Regions from separate parts of the Homo sapiens genome. Here regions 2, 3 and 4 are each linked to region 1. The links are contacts of gene promoters, found by promoter capture Hi-C in blood cells and fetal thymus (Javierre and others, 2016). All regions are on one chromosome and are shown on one strand. The core of a region is centred on a gene start or on the middle of the fragment in contact, and the rest is flanking DNA. Distances in the headings are between cores, read along the strand shown.

The links. The method cuts DNA at HindIII sites, captures the fragments that hold promoters and counts their contacts. A CHiCAGO score of 5 or more calls a contact.
Region 2: a fragment that was not itself captured here is called in contact with the fragment with the promoter of USF1 in region 1 in 1 of 17 cell types (fetal thymus); the score reaches 5.2 in fetal thymus.
Region 3: a fragment that was not itself captured here is called in contact with the fragment with the promoter of USF1 in region 1 in 1 of 17 cell types (M2 macrophages); the score reaches 5.4 in M2 macrophages.
Region 4: a fragment that was not itself captured here is called in contact with the fragment with the promoter of USF1 in region 1 in 3 of 17 cell types (naive B cells, megakaryocytes and M1 macrophages); the score reaches 7.3 in naive B cells.

What each region holds. Positions count from the first base shown.
Region 1 is chr1:161,040,793-161,047,994 of GRCh38, reverse strand. It overlaps USF1 (upstream transcription factor 1), which reads left to right and starts at 2,018. Exons shown (of 11, transcript NM_007122.5): 1 at 2,018-2,137; 2 at 4,635-4,727; 3 at 5,113-5,162; 4 at 5,325-5,440; 5 at 5,778-5,879; 6 at 6,149-6,344; 7 at 6,584-6,671; 8 at 7,123-7,181. The coding sequence starts at 4,720. It overlaps ARHGAP30 (Rho GTPase activating protein 30), which reads left to right. Exons shown (of 12, transcript NM_001025598.2): 12 at 1-1,049. The coding sequence ends at 280. RefSeq lists enhancers at 1,168-2,048, 1,659-2,138, 1,251-2,450, 2,049-2,929, 2,989-3,218 and 1 more. The HindIII fragment of the contact is 1,293 bases long and covers 1,589-2,881 here.
Region 2 is chr1:160,762,590-160,769,991 of GRCh38, reverse strand. No RefSeq gene overlaps it. Among named protein-coding and RNA genes, the nearest start is that of SLAMF7, 27 kb to the right of the region's middle. RefSeq lists enhancers at 1,520-1,969, 2,000-2,049. The HindIII fragment of the contact is 361 bases long and covers 1,363-1,723 here.
Region 3 is chr1:160,666,628-160,673,891 of GRCh38, reverse strand. It overlaps the pseudogene SETP9. Among named protein-coding and RNA genes, the nearest start is that of SLAMF1, 23 kb to the right of the region's middle. RefSeq lists an enhancer at 860-919. The HindIII fragment of the contact is 6,892 bases long and covers 658-7,264 here.
Region 4 is chr1:161,370,328-161,377,613 of GRCh38, reverse strand. It overlaps the pseudogene RRM2P2. Among named protein-coding and RNA genes, the nearest start is that of CFAP126, 6.1 kb to the right of the region's middle. The HindIII fragment of the contact is 1,575 bases long and covers 2,952-4,526 here.

The DNA of each region.
Region 1 (7,202 bases), core at 769-3,268:
GACTGAGGCTCAAGGAGTTCGGCGAACCCAGACCTGTACTGAGGGTGGGGATTACTGCCTCATCCCCAGAACCTCCCCTTGTAGCATGATCTCTGCCCATTCTCCTCGGCCCCTTAGCTGCCTGGAGCTCCCATCTGAAGGTGCAGAAGGGTCTGGATCCCGGAGTCGTCTTAGTCTGCCCCCCAGAGAACCCCAGGTTCCTGACCCCCTGTTGTCCTCTCAGCGCAGGTCATATGCATTTGAAACACAGGCTAACCCTGGGAAAGGTGAAGGACTGTGATTAGGACCACAGCCCTGGGCAAAGGGGACCAGCAAGTTGTCTTGAATCTCCAGGGTTCCTGACTAGCTGTCTCCTCTGCAGCATGAGCAGCTGTAGTGCCCAACTCTATAGGCTTTGGCCCTCCAGCTTCTCTCTTTGACTGTGGGAGGCACTGCCTTGGTTGGTTTACCTGAACTTGTCTCCGACACAAAGCACTTATCTCTTAGGAGATTCCCAAGAAAGTCAACAAGATCTTGTTCCCAGGGAGTGGGTCATTGGCCAAAGGGAACATAAGGTAGGCAGAAAACTTAAAAGAGTTTGTTAAAGTGAAGACTGGAGAAATTCCTCCCTTCCTCTGAGCTGTGAATCTCTCTTCATGAAAGCCAAAGGTAGAGACAGGGAGGACAGGGCCAGGTTAGGGCCTTCCACACACAAACACTTCTAGAGTTGCCCATTCCTGTTATGTTCTTGGACCCTAAGATACCTCCTGTCCCTTTTAAATCCAGATTAAGAGAAACGTCCAGGAAGAGCTCTTTGAAGCCCTCAATATTTGTTGGAGGGACTGGACTCCTCTCCAGCTCCCCACCCTCTGCCTCCAGTCACCATGTGCAAGAGAGGTCCTGTACAGATCTCTCTGGGCTCTCCTTTCTCCTTTGGAATAACTTGTTCCTATTTCAGGAAAGGGAAATGGTGTCACTCAGGCCCTGGGACTGCTTCTCCAGCCAGGCTGGGGCCACAGGTCCCACTCTAGTGAAGGTCAATGTCTCAGAATAAAAGCTGTATTTTTACACATAGTGTGGAGTCTCATTATTCTTATTAAAGTCTTTGGTGATAGGTATTATATCTTCACATATTTGGCAAAACATTCTTTTTCTTCTTCTTGTTTGGGTGCTCTTCCTCAGTTGTTGTCATGGAGACTAGTGGCCAGAAACTAGAGCTAGGTTCATGGTGGTCAGGAAATAAGGAAGAGAAACTTATATTTACATAATGCGTTCATTATGTGCCAGGAACTGGACTAAGTATCCTGTGCTCACAAAATCTATGTCCTTGATTTTATTTAATCCACACAATTCTGGAAGGTTGGTGCTAGTATCTCCAGTTTATAGATGAGGAAACTAAGGCTCAATTAAGTCAAAATGTTTGCCAAAGGTCTCAGAGGTAAGAAGTGGCAGAGATGGGTTTGAAACCTGGATCTGCCTGGCCCCCAAGCTTGAATTTTTCCCATTATACCACACTACTCCAAATCCATTCAGGGTAGGTCTTGATTGAGAAGAATGGGAATCAAGATTCCTGTCACAGAAGGTGTGAGCCTTTAGAACACTAGAAGCTTTGGGGTCTTTGGATGAGTGACTGCTGACGCGAATAACAAGGAACATATCCAATTCTATGCATGCCCCGATAGGTCGTAATCTCTAGCAGGTAACCTTTCAAAAAGACGCCCTGCGCCAAGATGGCCTCCCAAATAGCCCTTGTTAAAGATGGCGCCTCCGTCGGACGTCCCTCCCTTGATCTCAGCTGGATTCTCTTCTTTCCTGGAATGAAAAAATGCCCTGCCAAGCACTAAGATATTAGTACAAGTTAGTCGTCTCTTTCCCGTTCTTGTCGAAAGTGGCCAGGCCTTCAGCTACATTCTCCAGGACACGGCTTCTTTCCGGCTTCACAAATAACCCACAAACACCAACTCTCATCAAGATGGAGTGAGCGGAAGTGGGGCAGTTCTGAGTTTGAGTTTATGGGCGGGGCGAGAGCGACACTTCCGCCCCTCACCAACATGGCCGCGGGCTGGAAGTGCGCATGAGCAGCTGTCTATGGAGATACCTAGGCCGGGAGAGGGAGAACACAGTTGGAGAAAATCGGCAGCTGAGACGGCCTTGGCCGGTGAGTGTAGGACCGGGCAGAAGTCTGGAAACTGGGTGGACTGGCAAGGCAGGGCAGCTTTGATTTTGTTTCCGTTTTTCAAGTTAGAGAACACTGCTGGGGAGGAAGCCTTTGTTTTGGGGGAGGGGGCTGTGCTGGTTCTTTATCTCATACCCTGCTTTGTGGGCCAAACTCTCTCCCTTCCCCAGAGCGCGAGCGTCCCAGCCCTCCTGCGCTGTCCAGCTGCGCGCCGCAGCCGCCGGCACCGGGCGCTTGAGCTCCCTAGTCCCCGAGGCCCTTTCCTGCCTCCTCCGCGGAGCAGCTGGGGCGCGGGGCTAAGACTGCGGGGCTGCGGGGTCACGGCGCAGGCTCCCGGGCTCGCGCCTGGCGGGCGCTCAGCTCCGTAAGCGCCTTCTGGTTGGTGAGCCTGCAGGGAGACGCCTCATTCTAAGGCAAGGTCTAGGTGCCTGACTTCTTTCGGGAGTTGATTTTTTTTCCCTTTGTGTCCAGACTTAGCAAGGGCTCTTACTGGGCCCTTCTGGCCTGAGCGTGCACACCACAACGTCCCATCCCTGTTTCCGTGTCACCGATCCCTAATGCCTAGGAAATGCTTCCGGATGTCCAACTAAGATTTGAATAAGTACCCTGACCCCGTTGCTGGGTGTCCTCAGAGACTGCCCCGGCTGACAGCTGTGGCCAATAGAGATGCCTCCTGTGCCGGGCCCTCTATTTCATTGCCTTCCCCTGCAGTCAGCGCGGCAAGCTTCGCAGGGCATTTCCTCTTCAGGTTTGAAGATGGAAATGTAGGTGGTCCCAAAACACTAGTGCTACTTCCCCTTATCGACTGGGATCTCCTTGCAGCGTTACTTCGTCTGTACGGTTTCACTTTCAGTTCCTTTTTCAACATTTTCCTCGGACGCGGTCTTTCCGAGGCTTATCCATTGAAAATTTTCCTTGGATAGGAAAGGTTTGGAGGACCTTATGGGTAGAGAATTTCCAAAAATCTTGCCCCTTTTGTGTTGGGATTATCTTATTGCTTTGTACTGTGTAGCTGTTTCTTTCTGGAGGCATGTCTGCCCAGCTCTTTGTTTTTCCTGCCCTCTGGCTGGGTGTCAGGGTCCTAAGGCAGAGCTTGTAGGTGGATTCTTCCCCCTTTGTCTCTTCTTCAGAACCCTGTTTTTTTTTTTTTTACCCCTTCTTGCTCAGGCTTAGTTGATTTGGAGTTGTCATAGCAACATTTTAGCAACAGTGTTGTTCTGCAGGAAGGCTTGATGAATAAAATAGAGAATGCTTGAAGAGGATCCACTTGGGCTTTAGGGTTTCTAACAGATTATATAAATCTGGATACCCCAAAACAAGAGTCCTGTCAGTAGAATGGGGCCCAAATGCCAAGTCTAGTCTTTGTGGTCAGGGATATTCTTCCAGTGGTAGTGGGCTTCAGATTTCCTCTTCCTAGGTTTGAAAACAGAAATGTCTTGATGGACAACATGTGGCTGAGAAACTGGAAGAAGCATCAGTGTCCATGACACTGTATTTTTTGATGGTGGGGCCAATACATGGCCCTTCCTGATTCCCATGAAGCTGCCATCATGGCAGGTCATAATAGCTTTAATGATCCATTTAGAGATGTGTTGTTGGCTGGGTGCGGTGGCTCATGCCTGTAATCCAAGCACTTTGGGAGGCCGAGGCAGGCGGATCACCTGAGGTCAGGAGTTCCAGACCAGCCTGGCCAATATGGTAAAACCCCATCTCTACTGAAAATACAAAAATTAGCTGGGCGTGGTGGTGGGCACCTATAATCCCAGCTATTCAGGAGGCTGAGGCAGGAGAATCACTTGAACCCAGGAGATGGAGGTTGTAAGCCGAGATTGTGCCACTGCACTCCAGCCTGGGTGACAGAGCAAGATTCTGTCTCAGAAAAAAAAAAAAAAAAAAGAAAGAAATGTGTTGTTTCGGCCAGGTGCAGTGGCTCACACCTGTAATCCCAGCACTTTGGGAGGCTGCCGAGGTGGACAGATCATGCTCTCAGGAGTTCGAGACCAGCCGGGCCAACATGGTGAAACCCCGTCTCTACTAAAAATACAAAAATTAGCCAGGCGTGGTGGTGTGCACCTGTAATCCCAGCTACTCCGGAGGCTGAGGCAGGAGAATCACTTGAACCTGGGAGGCAGAGGTTGCAGTGAGCTGAGATCGCGCCACTGCACTCCAGCCTGGGTGACAGAGAGAGACTCTGTCTCAAAAAAAAAAAAAAAAAAAAAGTGTTGTTTCTGTCTTCCAGTATAATTATCCACTCTCCACCAGGAGTTGGAGTGATAATGGAGGGATGGGGAACACTATTTGTAGCCTTGCTTTTTCAATCACTGTAGGCCAGTCCTCAACATCAGTATGGTGGAGGCTGATTGTCCCCTGCAGATGACTGGGTTATTTTCCTGGCTATGTGTTCATGGAACCTAAGTTCTAGAACCAGAGATACTGTTCTGTTTCCTAAACTCATTGCAAACTTCATGATTTCTACCAGGACTTAGCACTCAGGCCTGTGAATCAGGAGATACAAAGACCTCCAAAAAAGGACCAGTTCCTCGGATGTGCCCCCTCACAGAGAGATGAAGGGGTGAGTGAAGAAGAGGTAGGGTCTGGGATGAAAGATGGGTGGCCTGGAAGAATGCAAAATGACCAAGAGCACTGCCTCTGGAGTCAGGCAGACCTGGATTCAGGTTCTACTCTATCACTTACTGTGTGATTTGGTTTCTCTATCTATAAAATGGAAGTAGTGCTATCTATCTCGTGGTGCTGTTTTTAGTACTAAATAAGATTACATGTAATGTACTTAGCTTAGTGCTTATGTACATAGTAAACAGTAAACACTAGTTGTTATTCTAACCTAACCCAGCTTCTGTTGGGAATGCCAATGAGTTTGCAGCCATATGTTACTGGGCCAGTGAGCTTCTCATTGACTTCTTCTCATACTCTTCCTTTTGTCCTTTCACCACAAACAGGCAGCAGAAAACAGCTGAAACGGAAGAGGGGACAGTGCAGATTCAGGAAGGTGAGTGCTAGAAACAGAACCAAGACTAAGAACCCATCATGGCCTCCCTTCCTTCCCCACCAGACCATCTCCTGTGCATCCTCCTCCTTCCGTGACATGCAAATGGAACGGGGGTAGAAAGGCAGTTAACTCACAGACTTTTCCTTTGTTCTTTTAATTCAGGTGCAGTGGCTACTGGGGAAGACCCAACCAGTGTGGCTATTGCCAGCATCCAGTCAGCTGCCACCTTCCCTGACCCCAACGTCAAGTACGTCTTCCGAACTGAGAATGGGGGCCAGGTAAGGGAGGGGGCCAGGTGGCTGCAGGTGTTATCTGGGGTTGGGATTGAGGGAGGTAATTGAACATGTCTTGGGGAGACCTGGCTTGGAGGATGAGTTGAAAGAGTGGACTGTTGCAGGGGAGGGAGGTGCTAATACTGGAGTAGAGACTGGTGTGAGGTTAGATGTATGCTGAAACCTCTGTGTGGGGAAAGAAGGGAGAATGGCTGAATCCATGTCTCTGAAGGACTTTGTTTTGGGGCCCTATCCAAGGGAAGCTTTATGAGGGGCCCTAGGATTCCCAACACTTAATCTTTTCTTCTCTCTTCACTCCCTCTGCCTTCCTCTACACTTCTAGGTGATGTACAGGGTGATCCAGGTGTCTGAGGGGCAGCTGGATGGCCAAACTGAGGGAACTGGCGCCATCAGTGGCTACCCTGCCACTCAATCCATGACCCAGGTACAGGGTATGGGCTGGGGAGGTCACTAGAGTTCTGAGAAGTAAGATGAAGAAGGGAATCAGTAGGATGGGGGTGAAGCTAGGAACAGTGAGGCATCTAAGGCTGCCTTGTCCCAAAGCACTAGGCTCTCCTTTTCTGGATGTTTCTCTCTCTCTCTCTCTCTCTCTCCACCCTACCTACCACCCCAACGGATAGAAGCTGCAGAGTGGTGTAGTGGGAAGAAGTTTTTGACTGTTACCAGAATCAGTTTTCTTGCTCCCCTTCCCAGGCGGTGATCCAGGGTGCTTTCACCAGTGATGATGCAGTTGACACGGAGGGGACAGCTGCTGAGACGCACTATACTTACTTCCCCAGCACGGCAGTGGGAGATGGGGCAGGGGGTACCACATCGGGGAGTACAGCTGCTGTTGTTACTACCCAGGGCTCAGAGGCACTGCTGGGGCAGGCGACCCCTCCTGGCACTGGTGAGATATTGCATGAGGATGCTGGCTGAAAGGGCTAGAATAGGCTGTGGGACATGACTGGTAGGCAGTGAGCCTTCACTCATGACTCTTAGTGATCATTAAGACCTGGACAGGCAGTGAGTCTGGGGCTGCTCTTCTATTAGCATGTTCTTTTTAGAGGAGGGGACCAGGGTCTTCACCTCAGGGCTTGGTGAGGTTCCTACCCATGTCCTGACAGAACCTACCCTGCATCTTCACAGGTCAATTCTTTGTGATGATGTCACCACAAGAAGTACTGCAGGGAGGAAGCCAGCGCTCAATTGCCCCTAGGACTCACCCTTATTCCCCGTGAGTGACCCTTGTTTCTTCTCAGATTCCGTAAGTGGTTTTTTTTTTTTTTTTTTTTTTTTGAGACAGAGTCTTGCTCTGTCACCCAGGCTGGAGTGCAGTGGCATGATCTCAGCTCACTGCAACCTCTGCTTCCAGGGTTCAAGCGTTTCTCATGCCTCAGCCTCCTGAGTAGCTGGAACTACAGACATGTACCACCACCCCTGGCTAATTTTTGTATCTTTAGTAGAGACAGGGTTTCACCATGTTGGCCAGGCTGGTCTCGAACTCCTGACCTCAAGTGATCCGCCTGCCTCGGCCTCCCAAAGTGCTGGGATTACAGGTGTGAGACACCACACCTAGCTACCATAAGTGGTCCTAATACCTGCTAAATCTTGTATAATTCCTTAACCCCAAACTTCAATCATGTATTTTGTCTTCTTACTCTGGCCACCCTGGGCTCTGTTGTCAGGAAGTCAGAAGCTCCCCGGACGACTCGGGATGAGAAACGCAGGGCTCAGCATAATGAAGGTAGGTATGATCTGGGTGGAG
Region 2 (7,402 bases), core at 294-2,793, 280 kb after region 1:
TCAATCTGTGTCAAGTTGCTTCTTGACCCATTTGTTTTTCCATCGGTTGTGAGCTCTTTGAAGTTAGGGGTCATGCTTTATCCATCCCTGCTTCTTGGCCATAGCACATAGTTGGTGCTCACTAAATACTTGCTGAAACACTTGTCAACTAAAGAAAAGCCAAGTTTTTAAAGAATTAAAGTGAGTTTTATTTAGTCTTACTGAGGTTGGCAACCCAGGAGAGTCTTTCGGAGAGTTTCTGTTAGACTGCTCCAAAGCAGTGTTTCAGCCTACAGCTTATACATAAGGTGACAGTCATTCTGCCTGTGCTCAAAAGTTATGTAAGAGCAAAATTTCACCAAAGTTTGGGTGCAAGGGTACATCTAGTTATAGATTACAGAGGCATAATGATTAATCCTGTCAACCATTATCTTATGTACAGCAAAAAGACAAAGGCCAGGATCATTGAATTTATCTTTTCTAAAAATGCAGTGATTTAGGTAAGAGATGTGGTAACCTGGGCTCCATCCTTCTTATCATCTTCAGGGCATCCTTCCGAAGGGCTGTCCTCAGTCACTGAGTCAGGGGCTTTGTGAAATTCTGCTGGCAGCTGAATGAGCAAACATGGCCTCTTATGTTTGCTACTTTGTCTTACAGAGTAAGTGAATGTAAAACAAAAACAAAAACAGAATGAATGAATGAAAGTCTCTGTGAGAGAAGCAACCTATCCATTGCTGTTTGCCTTTCCCACAGTTCTGGGTTTGGCTAGGGAGAGTTCACATCCCTGCTGATGTTTATTTTAAATTTCGAAGCAATAAGGAAATTGAAAAATGGACACAAAATTCAGGGGTATCTATTTCCTTTCTATTCATACAGCCTTATATTTTGCCTTCTAAGCTATTCTTTTCCTTGTATTCTTTTTAGACTCTCATTCAGATTATGTTACCTCAATATTCTTCCCTTAGAAGACTTTAAGAAGCAGATTCCATTCAACAGTTTTACTCTACAGAAATACTGTGTGTAAGGCCGGGTGCGGTGGCTCATGCCTGTAATCCCAGCACTTTGGGAGGCTGAGGCAGGTGGATCCCCTGAGGTCAGAAGTTTGAGACCAGCTGGCCAACATGGTGAAATCCCATTTCTACTAAAAATACAAAATTTAGCTGGGTGTAGTGGTGCACACCTGTAATCCCAGCTCCTCAGCTACTCAGGAGGCTAAGGGAGGAGAATTGCTTGAACCTAGGAGATGAAGGTTGCAGTGAGCCAAGATTGCACCACTGCACTCCTGCCTGGGCAACAGAGTGAGACTCCATCTCAAAAAAAAAAAAAAAAGAAGAAGAAGAAGAAGAGGAAATACTGTGTGTTTTCCTCAGTGTTCATGAAGCTTAATGTGCAGGTATTTTCATAAGGTTCTATATTTTATTGAAAAACAGACAACAAAACAAGAAACAGACTAGTAAAATTGCTGAATATGTGCATGGTTTGCCAGCTGGGCCAAGAGGAGGCAGCAGTGAGCTAACCCAGGGCTTGCTGTGTGGCTTGGAGGATCCTGTCACCATCAGCCTGCATTGTGACCTTGCTTTCATTTTCTCTCTCTGAGATGAGGGAGTTAGACTACATGATCCTTAGAGTCTCTTCCAGCTCCAAAATTCTCTGTGTAAGTTTTAAATAGATGTTTGGGACTGATTTAGGTCTGGGAAGAGAAAAGTGAAGGAAACAGACAAAAATTCCCTCCGTTTATGAAGCTTACATTCCCATGGGGCCTTCCAGACCCTACGGTTGTCATAGTGGCGAGGAGGCTGCCTGGATTGGAGGGTATGAGGCTGGGTAGGAAGTCAGACCAGGGCTTGACCAGTAGGCATCAGACAGATCCAGGGACCAGGCAAAGCAGGAAATGAATGAAATTCACTGGGTCCAAGTGAGATGGGAGCAGGGAACAGGCTCTCCACAGAGCCAAGCAATCAGAGGGATTGTGCTAGGTCCCTAACTGACCAGGAGGAGACAGGCAGAGTTGTACCCACAGGACAGTTGGGCCTGCAGAACCTCCAGAACCAGAAAGTCCGTTTAGCAGCCTGACTCAGCAAGGCTTGCTTCTGCTCCTGGGGAGATGCACAGGTCCCAGCATGCAAGTGACTGGGAGGGAACATGGAGAACACAGCAAAGAGGAGGAGCTAGAAAGAGCACCGGAGGAGTGAGGGGAGGAACAGCTCAGAGCCTTATAGCTGACAAGCCTTCTGTAAGGGTGGCGTGAATGAGTGAATGACACAGAGGGGAGTGTTTGCTACTTTGCTTGATCTGTGAGCACTGGTCAGCTGCCTCTTATTATATGCCTCAACTTTATAATGATATGATTAACTGCTATTCTCAGGTCTTCAGTTACTCTTTATACTTAAAGTTCTAGAGGCTCAGTTCTGAATGGAATCTATATAATTAGCCAGTAGTCTCTTTATGATGAGGTAACTTCTGTCGAAGGACTGTGATGTTATACTCTGCTGAACACTTTACGTGTATGATTATCTTTACCTTTAATCTCACTACAATCCTATGAGGTAGAAAGTATCTTTCACATTTTATAGAAGAGAAAACTGAGGTTCCAAGAAACTAAGCATTTTGCTCATGGTCATAGGACTAAGAGAAGATACATGACGTCCAGAGTTGCTTTTCTCTTTCTCTCTCTCTTTCTCTATCTCTTTCTCTCTCTCTCTCTCTCTCTCTCTCTCTCTCTCCCCCCTCCCCTCTCTGTATCTCTTCCTCTCTCCTCTCCAAGTTTTCAGTGTGGTGAAAGTAATGCAGATTAGTGACTAACCACTGTGGGTAGCATGGGTTTTTTCTTCTTTTTCCCCTTTTTAATTACACATCCTTTCCTTTCGTTTTCCTGGTGCTCTAAGCCAGCTCACCCCTGGTTTTTTATTCTGCCTTGTTTGGGATGGAGGTGGTATGCATGGAAGAGCAAAAGCAAAAACTTTAGGTAGCCTCAGCCCTAAAGTAGAGCCAGGATCCACACCAATGTCTCCTCTTAACTGCCTCAACCACTTGCCTTGCTGTCTGCCCATCTTTGAAGTGGAGATCTTAGTGGTTAGCCTCTGGGCCTCACCTTCATCTCTCCCTGTCCTCATCTTGTTTGCTTTCTTCCCAGACTAACTCAGCTCCAGGATTGTCCCTTCTGGAAGCTATCCCATGCGGCTGTCCCTGCCTTATACAGGATCTACCTTGGCAGAGGGAAAACAACTCTTGGTCCTTGTCATGGTAAATTTTATGTGTCAACTTGACTGGGCTAAGGGATGCTCAGATACCAGATAAAATATTGTTGCTGGGTGTTTTCAGAGGTCATCAGCATTGGAATCAGTAGATGAAGTAAAGAAGATTGCCCTCACCAATGAGGGCAGGCATCACACATCTATCGAGGACCTGAATAGAACAAAAACGCAGAGAGGAGGGATAAGGAAGGACTTGTTAAAGATTACAAAATTATAGCTAGATAGGAGGAATAAGAGGAATAAGTTATAGTGTTCTATACCACTCTAGGATGACTACAGTTAACAATAATGTACAGTTTTAGATAACTAGAAGGAGGACATTGAATGTTCCCAACACAAAGAAATGATAAATGTTTGAGATGACAAGTATGTTAATTACCCTTATGTTATCACTACAAATTATATGGCTCTAAACATCACTATGTACTCCAAGAATATGTACAATTATCATTTGTCAATTAAAAATATATACATACCATGGAATACTATGCAGCTATAAAAAAGAATGGGATCATGTTTTCTGCGGGAACATGGATGGTGCTGGAGGCCATTATCCTTAGCAAACTAACACAGGAACAGAAAACCAAATACTGCATGTTCTCACTTATAAGTGGAAGCTAAGTGATAACTCATGGACACAAAGAAGGGAACAACAGACACTGGGGCCTACTTGAGGGTGGAGGGTGGGAAGAGGGAGAGGAGCAGAAAAAATAATGATTGAATAGTAGGCTTAGTATCCGGGAGATGAAATAATCTACCTGACAAATCCCCATGACACGAGTTTACCTACATAACACATCTGCGTATATACCCCTGAACCTAAAATAAAAATTAAAAAATAAAATAAAAACAGAAAGGTGAAGGATGGAAGGAAATTAGTTTCTTTGCTTGAGTTGAGACATCCATCTTCTCCTCCCCTCAGACATTGACAATCCTGGTTCTTGGACTTTTGGACTCAGACTGAGGCTTATACCACTGGCCTCCTAATTCTAAGGTCTTCAGGCTTAAACGGAATTATACGACTGGCTATCCTGGTTCTCTGGCTTGTAGACAGCAGATCATGGGACCTCCTTGACTTCCATAACTGTATGAGGCAATGCCTATAATAAATCTTTATACATGCATATATCTCCATCCTATTGGTTCTGTTTCTCTGGAGAACCCTGGCTAATATAGAGTTTGGTACTGAGAGTGGTTCTACAGGAAACAATTTTAAGAATGGTTATTCTGAATTGGCTCTGGAGTCTCTGGAATTGGCTCTCCAATCTGATTAGATTTAAAGATACTAATGACTATTTCTAGTAGTAAGGAAAGCAGTGATAGTCTGTGACATACACTATTTATATAGAGATAGGAAAAATATCTGCACTGAATACTTCTAATCAACTTATATCTAATCACTTATATGAAGCAAGGAGCTCATTTACTCTGTATATGATACTTTTAAACATTTTTAGAAAATAAGAGAACACAATGACATTGGTTGGTTTCTCCTAATATCAATGGACAAAGTGGTGAAAGAAAGGGATGAGCTTGGGGATTTAAATTCCCCACTGGAGGCTGGGCCCAGTGGCTCACCCCTGTAATCCCAGCACTTTGGGAGGCCGAGGTGGATGGATCACCTGAGGTTAGGAGTTCGAGACCAGCCTGGCCAACATGGTGAAAGCCCGTCTCTACTAAAAATACAAAAATTAGCTGGGTGTGGTGGCGGGCACCTGTAGTCCCAGCTACTTGGGAGGCTGAGACAAGAGAATTGCTTGAACCTGGGAGGCAGAGGTTGCAGTGAGCTGAGATGGCACCACTGCACTCCAGCCTGGGTGACAGAGCGAGACTCCATCTCAAAAAAAAAAAAAAAAAAAAAATATATATATATATATATATCCCAACTGGAGCATGGCATAAATGACCTAAAAGCTTGTAGTGTGCCCTGAAGAAGAGACTTATCTCCTATAGCTGAGAGGCTGAAAACCAAATGCAGAACCTCATCCTGTGATTGGCTGAATTACAATACAAGTTGAACTCCCAAACTTGCAGGGTGTCTACTGTTAAAGCGATGGCATTCATTGGGAAAGAATGATATCCTGTAAGCTGAGAAAGAGACATTGGGAATACCATGATAGAGCTGGGGATATTCAGCCCCTATATGCTTATGAACCTTCTTTGCCAGTGGAAAAGTCCTCCTTCATCCCCAGTGAAAGTAGCCTCCCCACCCACAGTGGTCTTGGTCTTTCCACCTCCTTCTGAGGTGCCACATTGCCAAAGAAAAGAGTAATGCCTTCCCCTAAGGCAATTACCATGCAAAACACTACTGATTCCGGACCCACTCTCCCCACCCCTCTTTGCTTTGAGACCTATAACTAAACTCAAGTCCCAGGAGGCCCCTAAAGATGAGGTACAAAGTGGGACCCATGAGGAGGTGCACTATATTCCAAAAGAACTACATGAGTTTTCTAACTTATATAAACAAAAATCTGGGAAACCTGTGGGAATGGATAATAAGGGTGTGGGGTAATGGTAGAAGGAACATAAAGTTGGGTCTCACTTTATTTATTAGTTAATATGCTGACTGAGCAGAGATTCTACATTTAGTGTTGCAGCTCATGATGTTTGAAAGGGCCCAAGAGGTTGTCTGGTAGATTGAAATCACGGACCAAAATTTACCCACCGTAAGAAATGGAAATGCCTGACCTCCCTTGTTTAGTGTAGAGAAAAGGATCAGAGACTTTGAGAGATTCGAATGTTAGAATGAATATATTATTTAAGACTTACTCACCCACACTGGGAGTATCCAGAAGACGTAACTTTTACACATTATGAGAAATAAATTTATGAGGGGAGCCCCAGCATCCTTGGAGAGCTCCACGATCACTCTTCACTTTGATTACATCTTACAGTGGGAACCACAGCCACTCAACTGGAAAACCTAAACACAATGGGAATAATTGGACCTTAGGTGGCAGGAGCCAAGTGTGGTATTGAACCGCCAAAGGCAAAATGGGAGTAGTTACCATAATAGACAGCAGAGTCAAAGCAGCAATCAGAATAGTCTGACTTGTGCAGACCTGTGGCACTAATGAGGTAATGATGGTGTTCCCAGAAGAAAAACAGATAGGAAGCCTACTAAATTCTTACTTGATTTGTATAAGAAAAAAAAATTTAGATCAAGTGAACAAAAGTTTAACTCAATTCATAAAAACAGTCACAGTCCCTGAATCAATTCCTAGACTTGAGCCAGTTTACAGATCCAAAACCTCTTGAATAAGGGGGAGACCGAGTTCTCTGGAGGAAGGACCCTGGTATACAACAGAGTATTCATATTGTTAATCTTTCTCCCAGCCTTCTCCAAAAGGACCTATAGCCTTTAACTATGGTAACAGTGCATGGGGGAAAAGGAAATAGTCAGATCTTTTGAGAACTATTGGACACTGGCCCTGAACTGACACTGATTTCAGAAGACCAAAACATCACTGTGGCCCTTCGATCAGAGTAGGGGCTTATGGAGGTCAAGTGTGTTTTAGCTCAGATCCATTTCCCAGTGGGTCCAGTGGGTCCCTGAGCCTATTCTGTTGTTATTTTCCTAGTTCCTGAATGCATAAGTGGAATAGACACACTGAGCAGCTGGCAGAGTCCCCACATTGGTTCCCTGACCTACGGAGTGAGGGCTGTTACGGTGGGAAAGACAAAGTGGAAGCCATTAGAAATGGGTGTACCTAGGAAAATAGTAAATCAAAAGCAGTACCACATCCCTGGAGGGATTGCAGAGACAGGTGCCATCACTGAGGACTTGGAATATGCAGGGGTGGTGGTGATTCCCACTACATCCTCGTTGCTCTCCTATTTGGCCTGTGCAAAAAACAGATGAATCTTGGAGAATGACAGTGGATAATCATAGGTTTAACTAGGTGGTCACTCCAGTTGCAGCTGCCATACCAGATGTGGTTTTACTGTTTGAGTAATTAACATACTCCTTGGTATCTAGTATGTAGCTTTTGTTTTTAAATTGACAAATACCTTTTTTTATTTTCTTAAGGCAAATGCCTTTTTCTTCATTCTTATCCATAAGACCCACCAGAAACAGTAGGCTTTTAGCTAACAAGGCTAGCAGTATACCTTCAATATCCTACCTTGGGGGAATATCAACTCTGTGGCCCTGTGTTATAATCATATTT
Region 3 (7,264 bases), core at 2,854-5,353, 380 kb after region 1:
CAAAAGTGTTGGAGTTTGGGGAGTCCTGCAGCTTTCCCCTTCCCTTCCTATGGGTAAGGTTCTCCACCCATAGTGCCACATGAAAGAGACCTCCAAGAGTGCCACATGAGAGGTTCAAGGTATGCAAAAGAAAGGGAGACTAAAGTCTGAATTCTCGGTTGGGTAGTGGATCTGTTGATTTTCTTCATGGTAGAAACATGACATTGCAGCAAGATCGGGAGCAGCCTGCATACTCACTGTTTGGCATGGCAAAGATGTAGTAGTTTCCACAGTGGATGCTGCAGGCATAGTCAGGCTTCACTTGTCTTGCCACCCTGGCCACCAGGTAAGCAGATCTCCAGCAGCAAGAGGTTTTATTGATACATCATTGGTGGGAGCTGAGTGGGAGGAGGGCCGGAAGAGGCCAAGCCAGAGATCTCCCACATCAGCACACTACTCAGTGGAGAGTTCCCCACCCCCACCCTGAAAGCCGTTACACCTGTGCTCTACAAAAAACAGAGACAACCACCAGCAGCCAGGTAACTAAGACATAATTTGGTCCTCTCCTCCTGGCCCTATATGATTTGAGAATCTGGAACTAGATGAGGTAAAATAGAAGGGGAAAGATCAGACCACACCCTCTTCCCTATTACAGATTTTTAGATCATGAGACAAGCTTGGGCTGAAGTGACAGGAACAAGTAAAAGGGGAGTTTTACATCTGAGCCGTACTGTTAAGTTACTGGAAGTGATAGAAACGAAAGTGAATGATTTTCCCAAAACCTCCTTAAGTGATAGGAGGCAGATTTGACACAGTCCTCATGTGAATGGGGGAAAATAGTTCTTTGATGTTAGCTCCCAACATACCAAGTTCAGACTGTTCAAAAAACAGTTAGATGTATTCATTGAGCAGCTGCTATGAGTCAAACACCTTTCCAAATTTAACACTGAGAATGGCAGGGATAGTTCTTGTCTTCCTACATGTTTCGTTCTGGTCTGGAAGATAGTCATAAGGGAAATTAGTAATTTAATCCCAATGATGTCAATGGCTGCATGTGTCAAATATGACAATTGCTAGATGGAAGAACTATTTCAGACTGAGATAAGTCAGGAAGATTGAATCTTCTTTTGAGGGTCAGATTCCTTTTGGAATCGAGACTGAAAAAGGAGAGGTGTTAGATAGGTCAGAGGGGTATGTGTGGAAAAGCCTTCAAGGAGGAGGAAGTAGGAGAATGCAAGGATAGCCGAGAAGAACAAAACAATCTGGCTGCTGGAAAGATTTGCATAAAAAGGTATCTAAATAAAGCTGTTGCCTAATTTCTAGACGGCAAATAGCTATCTTGACTAGTGGCTCTGGAAAAGTAAACCAGTTCTCAAAGTATGAAATATTATTTGTCATAATAATTCTGGGGTTATGATTTCACAAAATCAGAGTCATATTAATGAGAGAAATCTCTTTTCCTAATGTAACTGAGGCCTGCTTATTTATTTAGACACCTAGTGAGAAAATCTCACCGGTAGGGAGATTCAGCTAGAATGCAGTGGACCCATCTTCTGCCTAATCCTTTACACCTGTGTTTACCTTTCCCCAGTTTAAAATCAGCTTTGAGTGAGCAAAGGAGAATTTCACTTAGCATCTGGCCAAAGATGAGGCATTTGCATTTGTAAAAGATGAGAAAGGATGAAAAGGACAGAAACCGTGCCTCCTATATCAGCTGGTTGTATGCAAGATACCCAGATAAATACAGGTGGGGAAGAATTTTATGGGAAAGGTTTTGTAGTAACTTGAAGAATCAAGAGAAAAGCTAAATATTAACATCTAGATAGCAAGATTTAATGTGCAAAACTTTAGAATTCTTCAAGCTGAATCAGCCCCAATTGTTTTCCAGGCTTGTGATACTATGCTTCATTATGCAAATTTTTATAACCTTTGTTCTTCCTCAAGTTCCCTGTTCTCATGAGATCTACTGAACAATTCAGTAAAGAACCTTATATATATATTCATGGTAAAGTGGGGTGTATTTTTTCCTAAGGAAAAACTAGTAAGGCAAGAGACACTGAAAAAGGTCAGTGATCCCTCCCCAGTCAAGGGCTTTGGAGGGGTAAGACTGGAGAATAGTCAGCTCTATTCTTTTGCAAATTTCCAGGTAAAGTCAAAGATAGTTACTGGTAGCACTGGCCAGGTCCTCAGGCCAGATATACCGTACACAACATAGCTGCTTCATTATTATTATTATTGTGTGTATACATTTAGTTTTATTGTAACAAAGAAATCTGTACACTTTTAATGTTTAAAACTGAGCATCATCTTTCCTTTCCAGTGAAACAAAAAGAAAATTTAAAAATAAACATGCCAAAGGAGAAGCCATGTTGTTAAAATGCCCACTTAACCCACCCAAACATCTCATACTCACCCTTTGATGACTTTCTATAACCTCATTTTTTACAGGTTTTTTTTTCTTTTTTTAAACAAGAGAAAGTAGACAGATACATGTTGATAAATGATGGTCCATATTCACACAGAGACACACGGTACTCTCTGAACCCAATATACAGAGAAAGGAGAAAAGAAGCTAGAATTCTATGCACTGCTACACAGGGGTCTGGCACTCTCCAGCTTCCAGCAGAGCAAAGGGAGAAGGTTTTTCTTTTCTCCCACAGAACTTGGTGGTGTTGATTCCATACAGTTTTTGTTCAGACAGGAAGAGATAAGAATGAATTCTGAAGAGAAAGGGGTAGAGAATATTTTCCCATTGTATTATGCTCAAGGCATTTCCCCCCAAATAAGTTGAAAACCATGGTGTAGAGAAAAGAGACCTCAAGAACAGCGCGACTGAGCACAAGAGGGGAAAAAAGAAAAAAGACTGCAACTTGCTCCCAGGGACTGGAGAAAATTAAAAAAAAAATTGTTCAGAACATCAGTGTTCTGTTAGTCATCTTCTCCTTCATCCTCCTCTCCTTCCTCAACGTCATCATCATCTTCCTCTTCTTCGCCTTCATCCTCATCCCCTTCTTCATCAATATCTTATAATCCTTCCTCTTCTTCATCATCATCATCATCTTGTTCTTCTCCTTCTTCTTCATCATCCACATTGGGAACCAAGCAGCACTGTTATGGGTTTGGCCAAGTACTACCTGTGATGACCTCTCATAACTCACCAGCACCTGCATCAGAATGGTCAGTAAAGCAGGTCAAGAAGCTCTCTGGTGCCTCAGGCTGCCTCTTCCTACTGGCTTTATTCTTCGTTCGACTTGAACGATTCGTTACATCCTTTCAAGATTTCCATTTGATTTCAGTGGACTTTGAAGATGGATCGCCACTCTCATTTAGATGAAATTCTTTGGAGAGGAGTTTATTTTCAAAGTAAGGATGTTCATCAAAATAAAAATCTATTCTGTAACCTAATTTAGTATCTTCAAATTATGTCACTTCAACTCTGGTCATATAATGCAGTGCCTCTTCATCCTCCTCCACAAGCAGTGCAGACACTCGTGGGTGGTTGACAAATGATGTTACCCAAAAATGTGGGATTTGGGCCATCAATGATCAATTCTGACCTCTTCTGAAAAAATGATTGGCAGAGTTTGTTCTATTTCTGTTCTACTTTCAAATTCTCCTCACTGGCTTGTTCATGAAGTCTGTTTCATTTTGTACTTCACAAATGTGTTCAATTGCTGCTTGCTATTCTTTTTCTGAGGTCTCGTCTGCCCGGTTGCGGTTGGAGTTGAGCTCCTTTCTACTGACTTTAGCCGTTGGCACAGACTTGGTGCTGCTTGGAGTTCGGGGGGCGGGGGGCGGGGTGTGGTGGTTGGGGGGAGAAACGGGAACGGGGAGAGAAGGAATGGGGAAGCGGGTCGGGGGTAGGCGGCTTCCCCTAACTCCACACTCGCTGGCACTCACTCGGTCAGGCCGCCTCCGCTCCCCGTTCGCTCGCTCTCCCAGCGCTTGCTCGCGCATGCTGCCCTGGCATATGATACATAAAATGTATATAAAAGACAATATAAGTGTAGTTTTTGTTTGTAATTTTTTTCTCTTATCTGATTTAAAAGACAATTTTATAGAACAATAATTATAAATCTGTGTTAATGACACACATGTATAAAGATGTAATTTGTATGACAATAACAGCAAAAAATGTGGGCAGGAGAAAAAGCTGTGTGAGAACAAAGTATTATATTATTGCAATTAAGATCATTGTAACCTCCAAACCAACTATGAAGAAAATAAATACAGTAAAAAAAAAAAAATGACAAGGGAACTTAAGTGTACAGTAGAAAAAATATATTTAATACAAAAGAGGGCACTAATAAAGAAAGAGAAGAACACACACACACAAAAAACCTATAGAAAACTAATAGGAAAATGGCAAACATAAATCCTACCATATCAGAAATTACATTAAATATAAATGGATTAAACATTACAAATAAAAGGCAGAGGTTATTAGAGTGGACTAAAAAAAATGGGTCCACTATATGTTGTGTACAAAGGACACAGTTTAGATTCAAATACACCTATAGGTTGAAAGTAAAAGGTGGAAAAAGGTATATTATGTTATGGAAGCAATAACCAAAAGAGAGCTGGGTTTAGAAACTGAGATCAGTCAAAATATGATTTAAGACAAAAATTGTTGTAAAGACAAAGAAGGACATTTTATAATAATAAGAGTTAATGCATCAAGAAGATATAACAATTATTAATATATATGCACAGAGCCCCAAAATACATGAAGCAAAAACTTACTGAATTGAAGGGATAAATAGACAATTCAACAATAATAACTGGAGAATTCAATATCCCATTTTCAATAATGGATTGAACAACTATACATAAAATCAACAAGGAAATAGAAGACTTAAACAACATTATAAACCAACTAAACTTAACCAAAGTCTATAGGACACTTTACCCAACAACAGCAGAATATGTGTTTGTTGTTCTCAAATGCACATGGAACATTCTCCAAGATAGACTATATGTTGGGCTATAAAACAAGTCTCAACAAATATGAAATGACTAAAATTACAGAAATGTCAAAAGTATGTTTTTAACCACAATGGAGTGAAATTATAGATCAATCACAGAAGGATATTTGGAAAATTCATCAAGCTACATACTTCTAAATCAAGCTACATACTTCTAAAACAATGGGTCAAAGAATAAATCATAGGGGAAATTACAAAATACTTTGAGATGAATAAAACTAAAAATATTACATATCAAAAACTTATGAGATGCAGGAAATCAATGCTTAGAGAAACTTTTATAGCTGTAAATGCCTAAATTAAAACAGAAAGATCTCAAATCAATAATCTAACCTCCTACCTTAAGAAACTATAGGCTGGGATTAGTGGGTCATTCTTGTAACCCTAACACTTTGAGAAGCTGAGGCAGGAGGATCACTTGACCTCAAGAGTTCAAGACCAGCAACGTAGTGAGACCTTGTTTCTACCAAAAAATTTAAAAAATTAGCCAGGTGTGGTGGCTCATGCCTGTAGTCCCAGCTACTTTGGTGGCTGAGGTAGGAGGATTGCTTGAACCTAGGAGATCAAGGCTGCAGTGAGCTGTGATTGTGCCACTGTACTCCAGCCTGAGTGACACAGTGAGACCCTGTCTTGAAAGAAAGAAAGAAAGAAAGAAAGAAAATAAACTATAAAAAGAAGAACTAAGTTCATTAAGAAACTATAAAAAGAAGAATAAACTAAGCTCAAAGCAAGCAAGAGGGAGAAAATAATAAAGATAAAAATGGAAAGAAATGAAGGAGAGAATACAAAAATAAGAGAAAAACAAATTTAAAGTTTGGTTATTTGAAAAGATCAGCAAAACTGACAAATGTTTAGGTAGACTGATAAAATGAAAAACGGAGAAGACTCAAAGGACCAAAATCAAGAATTAAAAGGGGATATTACTATTGACTTTAAAGGAATAAAAATGATTACAAGGGGGATAGTATGAACAATTGTATGGAAATAAATTAGACGAAATGGAAAAATTTCAAGAATCACACAGACTACCAAAACTGACTAGAGAAGACAGATGCGATAGATCAGATAGATAAAGGGAGGGTTCTTGCTTGCAATAGAATGCCAAATATGGAGTGAGGTGCTAAAGTGAAGAAAGTTATTATTTTGTAACTATCACAATTAAGACAGGCTCAGGCAAAAATTATCAATGGATGCTAAATCTCAGAGGAAATTTTGATGAGGAGTAAGATGTCTGCATGGCCTTCCACTGTATGCCAACACATAGTTATTAGTTAAAATCAAAAAAGATAACTATACAATAGAGAAATCTGGCAATCTGTTGGCAATATATTGGCCAGGTGATTAAAATTAACATTATCGATGAGAAGACATCAAGGGTCTCTAGATGTGATACCTTGAGGGTACAATGTCACTTGTGTAGTACCTAGTCTGGGAATGCATAATGTGAATCTAATCATAAGGAAATACCAAAAAACCCCAAGTGAGGAATTTGCTATTAAAAAAGAGAGGCTGTAATCCCAGGACTTTGGGAGGCTGAGGCAGGCGGATCATGAGGTCAGGAGTTTGAGACCAGCCTGACCAACATGGTGAAACCCCATCTCTACTAAAAATACAAATACAAAAAAATTAGCTGGGTGTGGTGGTGCATGCCAGCTACTCAGGAGGCTGAGGCAGAAGAATCGTTTGAACCCGGGAGGTGGAGATTGCAGTGAGCCGAGATTGTACCACTGCACTCCAGCCTGGGTGACAGAGCAAGACTCCACCTCAAGAAAAAAAAAAAAAAAGGGAAAGGGTGGGAAGACTGCATTCTTCAAATATATCCATGTCATAAAGGAGAAGATATAGCTGTGGAAATGTTACAGTTGAAGGGTACTAAAGAGATACAACAACTAAATGCAATACCTAATACTGGACTGGATCCTGACCTGGAGGGAAAATTATGGTTACAAAGGGTCAACCGACAAAATTGAAATGCAAACAGTAGGTTAGACAAGAATATTGTTATCAATGTAAAATTTACTTAAGTGATAACTATATTGTAGTTGTGTCAGAAATTATCCTAATTCTTTACACTGATGTATTTAAGATAAAGAGCCATGCCATATGCAACCTACCCTATAATAGTTCAAATAGAGACAGAAAGAGAGAGAGAGAGAGAACTAGCTAATATTAAAGCAAAATGGGCAAAACATTACAGAGAGGTATTCACAGTCACAGCCAACTTGTAGACCCCTCCCTGCAGGATATTTATAAGCGTGTTCTTTGTACTATTATTAATAATAATTTTTTCTTGCAGCTCT
Region 4 (7,286 bases), core at 2,490-4,989, 330 kb before region 1:
AACAAAATGACCCACCTAAGATCTTGCTCCTGTTAGGTGGTGAAATCAACTGGAGTTGGTTCCTAAAAGTTGTTTATTCTAGTCTTGTTTAAGTAGGTTGTGTGAGTTAATAGTTAATTCATTTACATTTACTATATGGCCCTTTTTTTTTTTTTAATAGAGTCTCGCTCTGTTGCCCAGGCTGGAGTGCAGTTGTGAGATCTTGGCTCACTGCAACCTCTGCGTCCCGGGCTCAAGCCATTCTCCTGCCTCAGCCTTCCGAGTAAGTGGGATTACAGGGCCCACCGTGGTGGTGGGCTAATTTTTGTATTTTTAGTAGAGACGGGGTTTCACCATGTTGGCCAGACTGATCTCGAACTCCTGACCTCAGGTGACCCGCCCCCCTTGGCCTTCCAAAGTGCTGGGATTACATGTATGAGTCACCACGCCCGGCCTACATGTCTTTGAAATTAGAAAATATTTTTTAGGCTGGGTACAGGCTTGAGCCACTGCACCTGGCAAACTAATATTCTTAATAGGGCTAGTTTGAATTAATCTGCCTTTATGTTTGGGAAAAAGAAAGCTGAGACACTACATGAAAGATGATGCAGGATATGTGTTGATCTTTTGGCCCCATTTGTTAATTTTATTATCTATTTGAACATTGTCCTGTTCTATTTTTAGTTTTCCTAATCATTTATTATATAGTCAATTTTAAAATTTCTGTAATATGAGATTTTCTATCTTTTATTGTTACCTAAATAAACCCAGATTATATGGTCCTTACACTTGTGCAACATTAAAATGAATAAAGGCTTTGCCTTGCATTGTCAGAAAAACAAAAACAAACCCCTGCAATTTATTTTGCATTTCCCCCTTGACCCAGGAGTGGTTTAACACGTTCTGAAATTTCCCTTTGGGGAAATGTATGGGAGAGTGAGTGTGAGTGTGTGCAAATAAAATTCCCTTTGGAAGAGGCCTTTTTGTTTTATTGTTTGATTTGTCTAATTGTATTACATTTTGGTCAGATAATACTATTTGAATTATTGTTTCTTCACTTTGGATACACTGAGATTTTCTTTGTAGCTTAGGATGTGAATGTGCCACATTTTTGTGAATGCTTTATGCATTTTTTTCTTTTTTTCTTTTTCTTTTTTTTTTTTTTTTTTGATATGGAGTCTCACTCTGTCGCCCAAGCTGGAGTCCAGTGGCACGATTTCGGCTCACTGCAACCTCTCCTCCTGGGTTCAAGCAATTCTGCCTCAGCCTCCCGAGCAGCTGGGATTACAGGCGCCCACCACCATCTTCAGCTAATTTTGTGTATTTTTAGTAGAGATGGGGTTTCACCATGTTGGCCAGGCTGGTCTCAAACTCCTGACCTCATGATCCACCCGCTTCGGCCTCCCAAAGTGCTGGAATTACAGGCATGAGCCACCACGCCCAGCCCTTTACGCATTTTTTTAAAAAGTTTATTCTCTATTATTAAGGTTCAGAGTTTAATATTATTAAATCTACTTAAATATATTTATTATGTTGTTTAGGTCTTCTGTATCCTAACTTATTGTTCACTTGACCTTTCTAGATCTGAGGGATTTGTTAGTCCTCCTATTATAGTGTGCTTCTATTTCTCCTTGTATAAAATGTCATTATCTTTATAAAAATTGTGGCTAAAATTTCTTTCTCTTTTCTCATTAAAAGTAATGCTTTTTAGTCAGAATTCTACTTTGATGGATAATTACAACTGCAACCCCTGCTTACATTTAGGAATAAATTCTGGTACATCTCTTAGTCATTTATTTAGGCTTCCTGAAACTCTTCTTAGATGTAGCTCTTTTATATAGCACAGTGTTGGACTTTGCTTTGTCAATGTGAAAACTATTTTCTTTTAATAGGTAGGTAAACCCATTCTTTCTCTCTTTCTTTATTTAAACCCTTTCTTTCTTTCTTTTTGATACGGAGTCTCGCTCTGTCGCCCAGGCTGGACTAAAGCGGCACGATCTCGGCTGACTGCAACCTCCGCCTCCCGGATTCAAGTAATTCTCCTGCCTCAGCCTCCCAAGTAGCTGGGACTACAGGCGTGTGCCACCACAGCTGGCTAGTTTTTGTATTTTTAGTAGAGACGGGGTTTCACCATGCTGCCCAGGCTGGTCTTGAACTCCTGACCTCAAGTGATCCGCTGCCTCAGCCTCCCAAAAAGCTGGGATTACAGGCGTGAGCCACCGTGCCCAGCCCCCTAATCTCTCTTTACTGATAGTTGTACTATATTTACAAGATTGCCAAGAAATGTGGAAAAGTTAATGAATACATATTAATGGTTTATTAATATATTTAAATACATGATAAAATAATAGTATCTATTTCCAGACTTCATGGTCAACCTGTATATTGTTAAAGCACATAGCCAAGATATCCTATACTGGTGCCATTATAACCATCATTTATTCTTAGTTATGCAAGTAAACAAACTTAATTCACACCACTAGTGAGAGATACTGATGTCTTTTCAGTCATTTTGGTTGTTTAAAGCTTGTTCTTTGGTCTTTTTGTTTTGTTTTAAGAAATAGTGTTATAGGCCAGGCACAGTGGCTCACGCCTGTAATCCAACGACTTTGGGAGGCCAAGGCAGGTGGATCACCTGACGTCAGGAGTTCCAGACCAGCCTGGCCAACATGGCGAAACCCTGTCTCTACTAAAAATACTAAAATTAGCAGGGCATGCTGGTGTGTGCCTATAATCCCAGCTATGGAGGGGGGCTGAAGCAGGAGGATCACTTGAACCTGGGAGGCGGAGGTTGCAGTGAGCTGAGATGGTGCCACTGCACTCCAGCCTGGGCAACAGAGCAAGATTCTGTCTCAAAAAAAAAAAAAAAAAAAAAGGAATGAAAGAAAAGAAAAAGAAATAGTGTTAAATAGCTCTATGAATGCTGCAGAGAGGGCTACCCCATAGGCAGTGTGTGGGGAGTATACAAAGCTTGTTCTTTGGCTCCTCAGGAAGGGGATCTTATCAAGAATATTATTCTTTTGTGGTATTGTCAGTGGAAAGGAGAGATGTAACAGCAGTCTCCGAGAGAGGGAGCCTTAGTCTCAGGAAAGAAAACTGGATCAGCTATTTTAACTCTATAGAGAAGTTTTGAAACTATAGCTTTTACATTTGTAGCCATGCATCTCTTCAGGGGTCAGAACTACGCCTTCATTTCCTATAAGGAAATCTACAAAAACCAGGGTGTTTGAATAGTTCAAAATTTGGCCAGTAGCTTGGTTGGATGAAATCCTGTTAGCCCAGGAAATGGGGCAAAAGCCAGGTCTCCTATCCAAGACCCATCAACACCTGACCCAGTGAGGTGACATGGAGGGCACCTTGGAGCTACTTAGAAGAAACCTTAGTAGAGAGCTGATGGTATAACTAGAGACAGTGATTCAGGTGGTTACACTGTGTAATAGATGAGATAAATGCCCCATTTTTACTATGAAGGGGTTACTAATAATTTTTTCTGGTTTTAAAAATTGCCATGGGAGGCCGGGCGCGGTGGCTCACGCCTGTAATCCCAGCACTTTGGGAGGCTGAGGTGGGCGGATCAACTGAGGTCAGGCATTCGAGACCAGCCTGACCAACATGGAGAAACCCTGTCTCTACTAAAAATACAAAATTAGCCGGGTGTGGTGGTGCATGCCTAAAATCTCAGCTACTCGGGAGGCTGAGGCAGGAGAATCGCTCGCTTGAACCCGGGAGGCGGAGGTTGCGGTGAGCCGAGATCGCACATTGCACTCCAGCCTGGGCAACAAGAGCGAAACTCCATCTCAAAAAAAAAAAAAAAAAGAAAAGAAAAGAATAAAGGCAGTGAGAAACAGAGATGATAAAGAAGAAACAGAAAATCTTTCTGATCATGTTCTATCTTTGAAATTCTAGTATCCTTTGAAGCCCAAACTATACTTCCTACCTTTGGAATCTGTTAAATACTCCTATTAATTATAATTTCCCCACTTCCCCTTTTTTGTTTAAGGTAACCTGAATGAGTACTTCTTACTTGGCAGTCTTAAGCCAATAATAATGCTAAAATAATTGAGCATTCATTATGCATCTTGCACCCTATTAGCATGTTACATATATTTAATGCTCAAAACTAAGATTATCCCCATTTTACATGTAAGGGTACTGAGACCCAGAAAGATTAACTTGTGTAAGGCCACACATTTAGGCAAAGCCAGAATTTAATCCAGGCAATGTGACTCTAGTACTTATGCTGGTGGTTGCCTTCACGTAGGTCCAATGTACACATCGCCTATAGAGTACAGGTTAAACTTGTACTTCAATAGCAGATAATCTCAGTCCAAATAAAAGATTTCCTAATGGTTTAGTTTCAGTCATCAAAGAATTTAAGTGAATGGAAAAAAGTATCTTAAGGCATACGTAAAGGATGGGGCCTTTAAAGAGCCCTTCCAACTTTGGAAGAAGTAAATCTGGTCCTAGTAAAAGACCATCTGCTGTACCTGAAGTCAACCAGTTCATCTGAAGAAAGGCTAAAATTCAATACACTTTTATTAGAAGCTTAAAATTGCCTGTTACTACTGATATTACAATTTCCTAGTGAAATCTTTTTTTTGTTGAGACGGAGTCTCGCTCTGTCGCCCAGGCTGGAGTGCAGTGGCGCGATCTCGGCTCACTGCCAGCTCCACCTCCCGGGTTCACGCCATTCTCCTGCCTCAGCCTCCCGAGTAGCTGGGACTACAGGCACCCCCCACCACGCCGGGCTAATTTTTTGTATTTTTAGCAGAGACGGAGTTTCACCGTGTTAGCCAGCATGCTCTCGATTTCCTGACCTTGTGATCCACCCCCCTGGGCCTCCCAAAGTGCTGGGATTACAGGCCTGAGCCACCGCGCCCGGCCTGAAATCTTAAATATTAGAATTCACATAGGATCAAGCCAGGACTCCACCTTGGATTTTTTTTTTTTTTTTTTTAGACGGAGTCTCACTCTGTCGCCAGGCTGGAGCACAGTGGCGCAATCTCGGCTCACTGCAACCTCCGCCTCCCGGGTTCAAGCGATTCTTCTGCCTCAGCCTCTGGAGTAGCTGGGACTACAGGCGCGCGCCACTACGCCCAGCTAATTTTTGTATTTTTAGTAGAGACGGGGTTTCACCATGTTGGCCAGGATGGTCTCCATCTCTTGATCTCGTGATCCTCCCGTCTCAGCCTCTCAAAGTACTGGGATTACAGGCGTGAGTCACCGCGCCTGGCCTTTTTTTTTCTTTTTTTTGAGATGGAGTCTCACTCTGTCGCCCGGGGGATGGAGTGCAGTGGCGCAATCTCGGCTCACTGCAACCTCCACCTCCCGGGTTCAAGCGATTCTCTTGCCTCAGCCTCCCGAGTAGCTGGGACTACAGGCACGTGTCACCATGCCCAGCTAATTTTTGTATTTTTAGTAGAAACAGAGTTTCGCCATGTTGGTCAGGCTGGTCTCGAACTTCTGTCCTCAACTGTTCCACCTGCCTCAGCCTCCGAAAGTGCTAGGATTACACGTGTGAGCCACTGTGCCCAGCGTGTACCTTGGATTTTAGATTACAGAGAGACAAATAATCTAAAACGATCACCTTTCTCTCTAGAACAGTGGGTTAGAGGATCCAGAAACAGACCCAAATATGTTAGGGAATACATTAAAAATGGCATTTCAAATCAGTAGAGGAAAAGAAAACTTATTAATGATGCCAAGGCAACTAGTTAAGGCAACTGAAGCATAACCTTGTCCACATTCACTAAAATTCCAGAAGGAACAAATATTTAAATGTAAGAACTGAAGCTAGGGGTAAATTATTTTTAAAATATTGGAATTCACAAAAAGCCATTCAAAGCATAAGATCCAGAGCACAGAAAAAATGAGTAATACATCTGACTACTACATAAGTACTAAAAACATGTCCATGGCAAAAAAAAAAAAAAAAACCCACAGAAAAACAACAACAAAACAGAAAAACCACCAACAAAATGAAAGTAAGTGACAAATTGGAGGGAATATTTGCAACATATTTGACAAAGGACTAATTTCCTTAATATATGGAGTTCAAACAGATTAATGAACATGATCAACAGGCTGGGTGCAGTGGCTCAAGCCTGTAATCCCAGCTTTTTGGGAAGCTGAGGTGGGCAGATGGCTTGAGCCCAGGAGTTCAAAACCAGCCTGGGCAACATGGCAAAATCCCATCTCTACAAAAAAAATTAAAAAATCAGCTGGGTGTGGTGGTGCATCCCTGTAGTTCCAGTTATTCGGGAGGCTGAGGTGGGAGGATTGTTTGGACCTGAGAGGCAGAAGTTACAGTGAACCAAGATGATGCCACTGCACTCCAGCCTGGGTGACAGAGGGAGGACTGGTTTCAAAAAAAAAAGTCAACAGCCCAATAGTAAGTGGCAAAATACATTAAAGGCCATTTTCAGGGAAAAAAATTAAAATAAAAACAGTTTATACACATATAAAAACACCCTAATTAAAGAAATGCAAATTTAAAACAATGATATACCATGTTGGGTGGGTGTGGTGGCTCGTGCCTGTAATCTCAACACTTCCAGAGGTCGAAGAATCACTTGAGGCCATGAATTCAAGACAAGAGGAACAATATAGTTAAGACCCTATCTCTTAAAAAAAATTTGTTTTTTTAAATTAGCTGGGCATGGTAGCTCATGCCTATACTCCCAACTACTTGGGAGGCTAAGGTGGGAGGATTGCTTGACCTCAGGATATTGATGGAACCACTGCACTCCAGAGCTTAGGCGGCAGGGAGACCGTCTCAAAACAAAAACAAAAAATAAAATTATATACCATGTTTAACCTACAGCTTAACAAGCAATATGATATAATGGTTAAAACTGCTGGCTCTAGAGTCAGAATACTTGGGATTAAATCCTGGCTCTACTCCTCACTGTGTATTCTCCAGTTTCCTTGGTTGGGTTGAGAACTAAATGAGAAAATGTAGTAAAGCAATTAGAACTGTGCCTGGCATGTATATAGTAACTGCTCAGTTAACATTAGTTCTACTAGTTCAATCAATTAGTTCTATTAGTTCAATTCTATTAGTTCAATTAAAATTGGTTTAAACTGAAAAAAAAAGAAAAAACGATGATGTTGAAAAGAAAGCAGAGAACTAGGCACTCATACGCCATCATACACCACTGGTAGAAGTACAAACTGGCACAATGTCTTTCAGTGGTAATTTGACATTATCTACTTATTTTATTTTATTTATTTATTTATTTTTGAGACGGAGTCTCGCTCTGTCTCCCAGGCTGGACTGCAGTGGCGCGATCGTGGCTCACTGCAAG